Linked DNA regions of Homo sapiens: regions 2 and 3 are each linked to region 1. Evidence: promoter capture Hi-C in 16 types of primary human blood cells and fetal thymus (Javierre and others, 2016). All regions are on one chromosome and are shown on one strand. Each heading gives the region's core, a stretch centred on a gene start or on the middle of the fragment in contact. The rest is flanking DNA. Distances are from core to core; before and after follow the strand shown. Region 1 holds the start of NOS2 (nitric oxide synthase 2). Region 2 overlaps TMEM97 (transmembrane protein 97). Region 3 holds the start of POLDIP2 (DNA polymerase delta interacting protein 2).

Evidence for each region. Contacts are between HindIII fragments. The CHiCAGO score rates a contact against its expected background, and 5 or more counts as called.
Region 2: a contact is called between a fragment that was not itself captured here and the fragment with the promoter of NOS2 in region 1, in 1 of 17 cell types (endothelial precursors). The highest score is 5.9, in endothelial precursors.
Region 3: a contact is called between a fragment that was not itself captured here and the fragment with the promoter of NOS2 in region 1, in 1 of 17 cell types (erythroblasts). The highest score is 5.7, in erythroblasts.

What each region holds. Positions count from the first base shown.
Region 1 is chr17:27,798,988-27,802,892 of GRCh38, forward strand. It overlaps NOS2 (nitric oxide synthase 2), which reads right to left and starts at 1,542. Exons shown (of 27, transcript NM_000625.4): 1 at 1,352-1,542. RefSeq lists promoters at 1,375-3,905, 1,455-2,572, 1,455-1,747, 1,506-3,905, an enhancer at 1,716-1,744 and a cis regulatory region at 2,057-2,079. The HindIII fragment of the contact is 2,695 bases long and covers 1-2,168 here.
Region 2 is chr17:28,327,423-28,331,486 of GRCh38, forward strand. It overlaps TMEM97 (transmembrane protein 97), which reads left to right. Exons shown (of 3, transcript NM_014573.3): 3 at 1-1,263. IFT20 (intraflagellar transport 20) reads right to left here. Exons shown (of 5, transcript NM_001267776.2): 3 at 3,021-3,106; 4 at 1,751-1,854; 5 at 904-1,311. The coding sequence ends at 1,230. Among named protein-coding and RNA genes, the nearest start is that of IFT20, 6.0 kb to the right of the region's middle. The HindIII fragment of the contact is 691 bases long and covers 1,290-1,980 here.
Region 3 is chr17:28,353,726-28,357,594 of GRCh38, forward strand. POLDIP2 (DNA polymerase delta interacting protein 2) reads right to left here and starts at 3,802. Exons shown (of 11, transcript NM_015584.5): 1 at 3,563-3,802; 2 at 2,070-2,151; 3 at 763-860; 4 at 1-66. The coding sequence starts at 3,723. RefSeq lists an enhancer at 3,202-3,869 and a silencer at 3,500-3,869. The HindIII fragment of the contact is 1,713 bases long and covers 1,065-2,777 here.

The DNA of each region.
Region 1 (3,905 bases), core at 292-2,791:
GCCCCTTCATCAATGCTTTGCAACCTCTGTCTCTATTTCGGGGTTGGAATGGGGAGCCTTCGGACACAGACTTCAATTCTGTAAAGCCACCTAATAATCTTAAGGAAAAACAATGAACCCCCCCATCCCCATCGCCACTTAACAAGGACAAACTGTATGCACCATGAGCCTCCTTAGCGGGACCTGCTGGCCCACCAGACCCAGCCAGGCTTCATCACTGGCCACAGGCAGGGTGAGGAAGAGCCCGGAGGTCGTTGAAACAGGGGTGCCTTTGCCTGACCCTGAAAGACACTTCCCAGCAGCTCTCATTATCAACTGTAGTTTTAGGTCTATTACTGGGGAAAGCACTCAAGCTGTAGCTACCTTTCTTTTAAAGATTTTGCAGTTGTTGTTCTAACTCAGCATTATTACTTGCTCCTCTTTTATTATGTGGGGAGGAAATATTTGTGAAAAATGCACTCATCCCTCGAAATCTGAGATCATCTCCTTTGAAACAGACAAGAGGAAGATCAAAGAGGCAAAAACTCTGTCTTTAGAAGACAGTGTAGTGAATATAGTCCATGTAAGAATTTTAGGCCAAGTGCAGTGGCTCACGCCTGTAATCCCAGCATTTCGGGAGACCGAGGCAGGAGGATCGCTTGAGTCCAAGAGTTCGAGTTCAGCCTGGGCAACATAGGGAGACCTTGACTACAAAAAATTGAAAAATTAGCCAGGCAGGCATGGTGTCTTGTGCCTGTAGTCCCAGCTACTCGGGAGGCTGAGGCAGAAGGATTGCTTGAGGCTGGGCAGTCAAGGCTGTTTCCAAAAAAAAAAAAGAAAGAAAGGGAAGGGAAGGGAGGGGAAGGGAGGAAAGGACAGGAAGGAAAGGAAGGAAAGAGGGAAAGAAAGAAAAGAACTTATAGCCCCATAGACCTGGGTTCAAATCCTGGAATCCTAGCTCTACCAGTTATGTGTCCTGGATCAAGTTATTTAACTGAAACTCATTTATTCATCCATAAAATGGGTTTAATATATCCATCTTACCAGGATTTGTGGGGAGGTTACATGTTATAAGGACTGATAAGATAATCTCTGTTAAAAAAAATTCTTAGCAGATACAAACTCCCATTTTGAACTTTTCAGAAAGTTTTTCCTTGTCATGTAACAACCACAGCTAATATTTGCAGAAAAGAAATCTGACCAAGATGCCATGTTCAAATGACCAAACCTCATGTCGGCATTTTTTTACCTAGACTTTCCAACACCTTCTCTCTGTAGGCAGAAAATTCCCACAATTTTCTGAGCCTTCTCAAAGAGGAAGAAACAAAACCCTCTCAAAACAGCCGCTTCCCCAGAAATGAAGGCAACTCACCTTGCAGCTGGCTGCACTGCCTCCCCGGGGTAAGGACAGTCAAACCAGGAAGAGACCTGTGCCTTGAGAACTTCGGGACTGTCTAGAACTGCCCAGTCCCCTCATCAAAGGTGGCCGAGAGATTTTAAAGCAGGAATGAGGCTGAGTTCTCTGCGGCCGGAGCCTCAGTTTTCGACTCGCTACAAAGTTATGAACACACTGGCAGCCAAGAAGTATTTATACTCACCCCATGCCATCCAGAGAGTTGTTTTTGCATAAAGGTCTCTTTTTTTTTTTTTTTTTTTTGGTTTCCAAAGGGAGTGTCCCCAGCTTGTGTACAGTTAGCTAATTTATGACTGTGACTGCCAGGGCCTGTGGGTGACCTGATCTTGCTGTTACATCACTCTGTGTGGTGCCTCTTCACCCAACCCACCTCTTTCTGGTCCCAAGTCCAAGGTGGCAGTTCATCAGCAGGGTGGCTGCTAAGATAGAGGCACCACGGAGCCAGGTTTTATTTGGCCAAGCCACATGGCCTCACTTTCAGCATCTGGGAGATTTTTTCCTCAGCAGGGAGCTCTCTGGTTAATCCCTGTCCATCCTCTCACTTTTCCAGCTTGTGACAGGAGTCCAGGAAGCTGGGGGAATATTGACAGTATGGAACACACTGGAAAATGCCCAGGTTCCAGAAGGCCAGTGATATTAGATGATGCCATTATTCCAGACAGGCCTCTGAACTAGTCACTTGAGGTTTTTGGAAGGGAAAGGAAGGAAGGCTATTGGCACAGAGAGGCCTCTGAGATGTTGGTCTTACTAACACCTCATCCTTTAGCACTAGGTAAGCTTTGGTGGAATGGCAGGTAGGATTAAATTCCTTCCCTTATAATGGAAATGATCACTTCTTACATGAAAAAGTGGTAATTTCTTATAATTTCATTTCATTTATTTTATTTATTTATTTATTTTTGAGATGGAGTCTCATTCTGTCACCAAGACTGGAGCGGAGTGGCACGATCTCTGCTCATTGCAACTTCTGCCTCCCAGGCTCAAGCGATCCTCCCACCTCAGCCTCCTGAGTAGCTGGGACTACAGGCATGCACCACCACACCCAGCTAATATTTTTGTGTTTTTGGTAGAGACTGGGTTTCACCATGTTGTCCATGCTGGTCTCGAACTCTGAAGCTCAAGTGATCTGCCCACTTCAGCCTCTCAAAGTGCTAGGATTACAAGGGTTAGCCACCATGCCCGGCCTATAATTTCATTCCTTATAATGCCTGAAATACAGTATTCCCATACATATGCATTTTTCCATCATAAAAGTAAAATAACAACTACATTAGGGAGAAGTTGAGAAGCAAAGGGAAAAAAAGTCACCCTTGATCTCACCGTCCCAACACTTTGCTACCACTGTCCACTCATTTCCTTCTTGTCTTTCCCAAGTTAAATTCAGCATAATATATTAACTTTGTCAAAGATAAACTAAGAGCCACAAAAAAGACATGGATATCAGAGCTCAAGGATCTTTGTTGAGTGAATGTGTGGATGAATGAATGAAAAATAGGAGTAAACTGGAATGAGTTTTAACATATCAAAGCCATCTTCCCTTCAGGCTTCAGCTCAATGCTGCGGCTCAATGCTGCGGCTTAGAGCTCTGGCTTATGGAGCATCTGCCACGAAGAGCAATGCATTTTAGAAAGTGACAAGATGGCCGGGCGTGGTGGTTCATGCCGGTTCAGTTCAGGTAAACAGCACTCAGGGAAAGAGTCAGAATCCTGGCCTTAGGGAGTGCAAGGCCTAGAAAAATAAATGGATAATTATAGTACAGAGTGATATCTGTAGTGATGGAGGGATGGTATGGTGCTGATGTAGCTGGTTCTGCCTTGTTCAAGGAAAGTTTACAAGGGAGAGGACACCAGGGCAGGGTTTTGAGGGATGATTAGGAGTTTGCTACACTCTATTCCCTGTAGCTGCTTTCACATATTCTGGCTATACCTGCAGCAAACACATGTATTAACACATTTAATGCCCCCACCCAAGAGCCTCTGAGGGGGATACTACTATTTGCTATTCATGGAATCCTCAAGAATCCCATCTACTTGGCCTCAAAGCACTTCGTTGATTTTCCTTCAGAAAATGCAGTTATTCAGTTATGTGATCTGTCAAACATGTCACCTCAGGTGCCCCTCTAACACAGCGTCTGCTTGGTGTGGCATTCTTGACCTGTGGCAGGGTTTGAGTCCAAGCACCAGGCTTGAGGACACATTTGGAATTAGCCAGCTGGGAAGGAAATATAATTTCTCCTCAATCATCTTAAGTTATTTGTTGGGAAAGACACTGTAACAAAAGACAGATTAATAATAGAGAAAAAAAAGCAAGTTTGTTAATGTCTGTGATGCACACCACGCAGGAGAAGCCTCAGTGAAAGTAACTCAATGCTGCGGCTTAGAACTCTGGCTTATGGAGCATCTGCCATGAAGAGCAATGCATTTTAGAAAGTGACAAGATGGCTGGGCACGGTGGTTCATGCCTGGAATCCCAGCAATTTGGGAGGCTGAGGTGGGCAGATTGCTTGAGGCCA
Region 2 (4,064 bases), core at 385-2,884, 530 kb after region 1:
ACTGCTAAAGAACATGGCCTGTTTGACATGTTCATGAGTCACCTGACCCACAGCATATATGCTTATGACTAAACCCTCCACTCCTGATTCTCAAGAGTGTATCACCTGTCAGCAAAATGAATAGTGGGATATTTTGGGCCATTTTAAATGTGAAATTTTGCCTCTTTAATGTTAATTCAAAACTATATCAATGTTTTCTTGTTCCCACCTCTAACCCAAGGAAAAAAGAGAAAACATACTATGCAAAGGAAGTTTAAACTTAAGTTTTCCTTAAGGGTCAGCCCAACAATGACTTTCAGTCAAATGGATTAAACTGGAAAATGTTTTTGTTTCTGTTGTAAACAGATCATCCTAGGCGAAAGTTTTTTTTGTTTGTTTGCTTTTAAATTAGTTTATTTCTAAATCTTAGTCTTCCACATTTCTAGAGGCCACCTGACACAAGTCCCTGTATCTGAAGTCTAGCATCTCAAGGCTGATCTGGAAGTGTGCTAGTATGCTCCCTAGTGGATAACTTAATCTTTTAATACAGTTCCGTCATTCCCATCTTGTTTTCAGAAGAGAAGGTGGCTACAGCCAGGCATAACATATCCACTGTGTGCATAGAGGGTCTCTTCACGTTGATGCTTGGCATTCCATCAGCTTTCTCTAAGTCTTTGCTCAAGTTCAACCTTAAAATGATGTTAGACAACAGGTCCCAGTCAGTTCCCTCTATTTTCACCCATTTTGCTCACAAGCCATATTGGCCCGATTAGTGGTACTGTCTGACTCACGTGTGTGATCCAAATAAAGGTAGCTGCTGACCACTGCCTGGTTTGTTTTGTGGACTAGGGGATAGAGAATCCAGGGTTCTCTCATGAGGAGTTAAACATATTTCAAGAGCAACAGGAAAAAAGGTACATCAAGCCATTTGAAAACAAAAATTTATTGCTTCTCCTTCCAAAGCTTTGTGAATTTACAAAAAAAAGGATGAAAGTTTACAAACTGCTTAGTTCCAACTAAGCATAAGAGGTGAGAACGTACACTGCAGGGCCACCAGCAGCAGCTGTGCACTGATGTTAAAACTGGCTCCCCCAGACTTGTAGTGCTGTCTTCAGGGGGCTGCATTCCTTACACGCCACCTCTTGTGACATAGGTCATTGGTCAAGCCGCTGGAATGCTACAGAGGTTTTTTTGGTTTTGAGAGGCTTTTTTTTGTTTTGCCTTCCTACTATAAAAGCGAAATTTTCAGTTCATTTCTGAAAAATAAATTGGTCAATAAATTCATTTTGTTCTGCTTCTACTTTACACAAAGCTTCATATTCAACCCGATACCTGAAAAACAAAATTGTTAGAGGCCCTGAAAAAAAGATGAAGTAAACCACAGACCTAATTCTTCTAGAGAAGGATATAGAGGTTTAAATGATTTCAAGAAATGGTGTGAGTTCAGAATGAAGAAAGAAAGAGGCAAAGCCCTACCCAGAGCCACCCATGAGAAATCTCCAGCCCTAGGAAAGTCTTCTTTCAGAGAGCCAGCCAACTTCGTGGACCCTTTCATGCTCAAACTACTAGAGGTGGTTTGATATTAACAAGTTTTCTATTTCCTTCCCATCAAATGTAATTTTATTTTTTAAAATCTTCAAATCAGGATGACAAGTGAGATGCTATTCCTGGGAAAACAATGATGAAGAATAAGGACAAGAAGTGATCATTCCAGAAGGAAGAGTGGAAATTCAGCTGTGTAAAGAACTTGCTTTACATCATGACTTCTTACCTTTCTAGCTGCATTTTCTTTTCTGCTATTAGGGCTTGAAGTTGCTGCTGTTGAGCTTCTCTCTGCTTTGCTATAGATTTGAGCAAGTTCCGAGCACCGATGGCCTACAGTATTGCCAGAGAAGGCCATGGCTTCATTAAAACCATCTACAGCATCAAGTCCTCAAAGTGGGGAGGGGTTATCTGGGAGCTGTGTCAGTCTTCAGAGAGGAAAAGAAAGTGGAGCCCCAAAGCTTTTGGGTTAAGTCAGAAGGATTAACCTACTGATCACAAAGTGCCTCAAGAACTAGACGGCAGCTTTGAGGCAGGTCTAGGAGTATTCCTAGAGCCAGGGACACAGGCACAATAGCACATTTGGTGGTGCCATTCAGCCTTGTGCCTTTCACCAATCATACTATGTAAGCCTTCATTTCTTCATTTATAAAATGAGGATAAGACCATCTACATCAGTGCTGATATGAAGATGAAACGAGGCCAGGTGTGGTGGCTCACACCTGCAATCCCAGCACTTTGGGAGGCCAAGGTAGGCAGTTCACTTGAGGCCAGGAGTTTGCAACCAGCCTGGCCAACATGGTGAAACCCCATCTTTACTAAAAATACAAAAAAATGGCCGGGCGCAGTCACTCACGCCTTAATCCCAGCACTTTGGGAGGCTGAGGCGGGCGGATCACCTAAGGTTGGGAGTTTGAGACCAGCCTGACCAACATGGAGAAACCCTGTCTCTACTAAAAATACAAAATTAGCCAGGCATGGTGGCACATGCCTGTAATCCCAGCTACTCGGGAGGCTGAGGCAGGAGAATCGCTTGAACCCAGGAGGCGGAGGTTGCAGTGAGCCAAGATCGCACCATTGCACTCCAGCCTGGGCAACGAGAGAAAACTCCGTCTCAAAAAAAAAAAAAAAAATACAAAAACCTCAGCTGGGTGTGGTGGCACACACCTGTAGTCCCACCTACTCGGGAGGGTGAGGTGGGAGAATCGCTTGAATCTGAGAGGCAGAGCTTGCAGTGAGCCGAGATTGCACCAGTGCACTCCAGCCTGGGTGACACAGCAAGACTCTGTCTCAAAAAAAAAAAAAAAATAAAGATTAAAGGAAATAAAGATTGGCAAAAGTTCAGTAGGTTAAGTGGACCAGAAGTTATTAAAATCTTAAATAAAAATTCACCCACCCAGCCCTCTACCCCTCTAAATAAATCAAGAGGGAAGAGGGATGAGAGGGTAGTGAACTAGGGTCCCAGGCCAAGATGTAGGCGGAAGACATGCTGATCTTACCTTCATCTTTTCATTTTCTGCTTCTTTTGCAAGTTGATCAACAAGCTCAATTAAACCACCAACTATTTTCTGAAACTGGCCAATTTCTTTTAGGAAAAGAACAAAAAATAAAATATTTCCTTAGTATCATCACTCCCCTTCGGTAGAGTGCTAAGGCAGTGAGAGGGCAGAGCGGACTGCCCCTTCTAATTTGTGTTAAAATAGTTCGGTGTGGGCCAGGCGTGGTGGAGAGCAACTGTAGTCCCAGCTACTCAGGGGGCTGAGGTGGGAGGATCACTTGAACCCAGGAGTTAGAGGATGTGTGATCATGCCTGTGAACTGCCACTGCATTCCAGCCTGGGGAACATAGCAAGACCCTGTCGCTTAAACACTTTGGTGCCTGTTGGCCTGTCTCCTACCCTTGGTCTGAACCTAGAGAAGGGTGGCCAGCTGGACCAGGGCATACTCGGACCTTGCATCCCCACTGAGCCAGCCAGCCGCTATGACCTCCGGCTATGAAAGCACTAGGCCCTTGCTGGGCTCATTCTCCAGACAGACCCCAACCCTGCTTCCCCAGGAGTGACAGGAAGCACTGTTGTTCACAAAAGGGCAGCCTCAGGACACAAGCGCTGCCTCTGGACTAGCTACAGGTATGACACCAGATTTCAATTAACAGTGGGGATGGGGGCTTCCCACTTGTAACCACAAAAAAGCAAGCTCACAGCATTAAGTGCCTAATCTCCCACTCACTTTCTCCAATGTCCTGGATGTGACAATTTACTGAGGGGAAACTAAGGCCCAGAGAGGTGTGTGCATGGCACAGCAATCACAGGTTAGTGACAGAACCCAAGCTACCTTTCACTAACCAAGCTCTCTCCACAACCTAGGAAACCCCCCAGAAAGCTCAGAAGTCCCTTGTTCTAGCTAGATCTGGCTCTGTACGGGCATTGGGCTTGCTTGGCTGCTGGGACAGGAGGCTTCCTGAAGATTTCCAGCCAAAAGATGACTTCAGTAAGTCTGTTGAGCTGCTTCTAGAAACTTCACCTATCACTTCTAACTCCAAAT
Region 3 (3,869 bases), core at 671-3,170, 560 kb after region 1:
ACCTGATAGTAAGTGTGAGTTTTGCCTTTCACCTCCTTGGAGCCATGGCCAGCAGGGTTCTCTGCTCTATGGGGTGGGAGAAGGAGGCCAAGATCACCCCAGGAGAAATGGAAGCTGTGGCTGACTCAGCTCCCTACTCCTCCTCACCTAAACAGGCTGGTCTCTGATCTAAAGGGGCTTTAGCACCAGCTGGACACCTGCTCTGCAGCACCTCAGCTCAGCTGCTCCTCAGTTGGGGCAAATAATAGAGCATGGAAGACCATGGTATGGAGCCATCATCTGACCGTGTGGATACCTCTTAAAAGAAGGGGGCCATGTTGAGAAAATCAAATTGCCACCTCAGTCCCCAGGGCCCAGAGTACTCTTGTCTTCTTATATCCCAGGGACTGTCTGTGATCACTTAATGGGGCTGAACCTTTTCTGTTTTAATGTATTCTAGGGATGATGTGAGATTGAGGGAAAGACTCCAGCTGAACATCAAGAAATCAAGAAGACTTGTCCCCCAAATGCCCTCTGGGATACTCATAATGAAAATTAGGAATGGCTTAGGAAAGCATTCTGAGGAGGCCTAAAGGGACTCTCTGACTTAGACTATCCCTGGCACTCAGCACTTTTGTCTCCATGGGTCTTAGTCCCAGAGAAGTACTCTGGGGATGTTTCCAAGGCCTAGGAGGACGCTGTCTTCACCCCTAGTACCCCAATTACATATGTCTGCCATCTCCTCCTGAGGATACTGTGAGGCACAACCACAGGGAAACTTACTTTTCTGGAGCTGCAGAAGCCACATCCCGGTCATACAGTCTGGCCTGCCAGGGAAACAGGACGACACCTCGGTAGCCAAAAATGCTATGAAGGAAAAGCTGGAAGGAAAGAGGGGCCTCAGTGAGTCTGCAGTCCAGCAAATCCATCCAGGTGGGCCCCAGACCACAAAGCAACACAGGTGGAGGCAACTCCAGCACAAGGTCTTGCTACCTCTTCCCTTGAAGTCTGTGATCAACCAGACCAATGCTGGAACACTCTTATTTCTTCTTTACCTGGCTGACTCTACTCATCCTTTAGGTAAAAGCTTAGGCCTCCAGGAAGCCTTCCCTGACCTCCCTTCCACTTAGCACAATGTACAGCTATTGGCCATTTGCAAATCGTTCTTTTCTAGACTAGAAACTCCACAATAGCAGGAATCATGTCTACTTTGCTTTCTGATTTAACCCTAATGCACAATGCCTAGTCCATTGTAGGCACACAGAAAAATAAAATGTTGAACAAACAAAAAGTCTTCCTTACCTACAATATCCTAGAAGGGCCTAAATCTATCCCAGTGGACCCAGAACAAAGCTGATATAGAAAAAGAACCACACATCCAGAGTTTACCACACTGAAGTCAATTTTATTACGGCAAAGCATCAAAGGTATACTTTTCTGAAAGCTCCCTCCACGGCTTCCCACCATCCACTATGTTAGAGAAATCTTCAGCAACTTGGCTAAACCTCACTATAGTCCACACCATCCCTGTCCACATTAACTTGGAAAGAGAACCCACTGACACATTAAGTGCATTCAAATCCAGGAGAACAGAAACCCTATCTATAAAAATTTGATTCTGGGCTGGGTGCGGTGGCTCACGCCAGTAATCCCAGGACTTTGGGAGGCCAAGGCAGGTGGATCACCTGAGGTCGGGAGCTCGAGACCAGCCTGACCAACATGGAGAAACCGCATCTCCACTAAAAGTACAAAATTAGCCAAGTGTGGTGGCGCATGCTTGTAATCCCAGCTACTAGGGAGGCTGAGGTAGGAGAACTGCTTAAACCCAGGAGGTGGAGCTTGCAGTGAGCCGAGACCATGCCATTGCACTCCAGCCTGGGCAACAAGACTGAAACTCCGTCTCACAAAAAATAAATAAATAAAATAAATAAATAAAATAAAAAATGAATACAAATTTGATTCTGGAATGGCACCAAACATCAAGGTGGAATGAATGGAACACCATACCATGCAGGCCTGTGACCTAATCTGACTTTTTTCAGAAGCAGAGCACTCTATGAAAATGAAAGATGACCCAGCCCAATACTCACCTGCCCGGTCTCATATTTTCCATTCTGTTTTGGCACCTCAAACACACCAACTGTCTCCAACACTTTGCCCTCTGGTCGGTTTCTGAGTAGGAAGGAAAAGAACAAGCAACAGAAAAGCTGAGAAGGTAATGGTAGTTATCCATAAGAAAAAGCTCCTAGGATACTGAGGGGCCAGGGCGATGACAGCAGAGAAGGGTTTGGGGTAGTGGGACCAGCTGGAGCAGGAAAGGCTTTCCTCCTCCTTGGTGAAAACCTCCACAGTCTCCCAGTGTTAGATGTGACCGCTCCCATACTACTGTCTTCTCTCTTCACTGGGCATTCTTCATATCATGCCCTCACACTCTGCTCAAATGTACCCCTGCCCTTGTTTCTTCCCTAACCCACCCTCCTGACCTCCCACAGCACTTTAACTGTCTTGCTCACTTTTTCAATTTTTTTAGAAGGGGAGTATCTTTTTTTCTTCTTTTCTTACATTTTCTATATCACAAGTCATCAAACAATATCCTGCTCCCTTTACATTTCAGTTGTGTCCATGTCTTATCTTTATTAAATACTGTAAATTCCCTGGGAGCAATGCCTGAGTCTGATTAGCTGGTACTGCCCCCTCAGAGCCTAGTGTACAAGAGGTGCTCAAAAAATATTTGTCCTGTATTATAATTCCATGTCCATCTCCCCCTCTAACCTGTAGCCCTTACATTGCCCTTGAAAAGCTTAAACATCTCTAGATTTCCTACGGCACATCGCTCTCTCAATACCGTTTTTGTTCATATTCTCACAGGGGTCTTAAATTGCAAATAGCTATCATCTCTCCCCAATGTTCAGTGTCTAATATCAGCCACTAAAATGTCAGTCACCACTCTGAACAGGGCTGCTCTTTCTAGGGGCCCTTCAAATAAAGGCTGTTTTTACTGTTTTGAAGATGTGAACTTTATGCTTCCTCCCACTGATCCACCAGCCCATTTGATCCGCCTGTCCCATCCGTGGAAACAGTTTCCACACCATCCCCATGGCCTCAAACCCCCTTCCCCAAGTCACAGATAGAAAATCGATCTCCCCAAAGTCACTTGGAAACCTGGGGCCTACGAGGGTCCACACCCAAGAGTCTCGTTTCCCACCTCTAGCATCTTTCTGAGGCAGACCTTCACCAAATCCAAAGGCTGAGGGTTCAAGCCAATGCCCTAGGGCTGAATTAAAAAGCTTCCCTCTGACATCGGTGCTGGGGACCCCAGCCGGGGAAGTAGGATTCACTTGGGGAGGGTAACCTGTTCCCCCCCAGGGCCAGCCCTGTACAACCAGGGCTCTGGGCCGCGCTGGCTTCCCTGCTCCTGGCACATGTCCCAGACAGCGCAGGTCGGCTCCCTGCTCGGGACCCTCTCCCGGGTCAAACTCCAGTCACCCTCAGCAGGCCCGGGCCCCTGGCCTCCGCACTGGCTAGGAACACGCTCTCTGGGCTCCAGGCCCAGTTCCTCGCGCCCCCTGGCTCCGTCCCTCACCGGGACGAGAGGTGCCTCCGCGTCGTCGTGGTCGACGCTGGCGAGAAGGCTCCAGCTCCGGCCGCCGCACAGAGCGGCCTTGGCCACCGGGCCCCAGTCAGCGACCGGGACCACCAGCGGCTGCCCACGGCCAGGGCCCGCCGGGCTGTACAGGCTGCCATGTCCCGCCCGAGCGCCCGCCCGGCTGCTGACACAGAGCCCGACCCGCGGCCGGGCGGCGTTCCGCCCCAGTCCCACACTGCCCCGCGCGGCGTCCCGGCCCTCTTGGCCCGCCTGGTCCCACCCCGGAGCTCAGAGCAACTTCCGG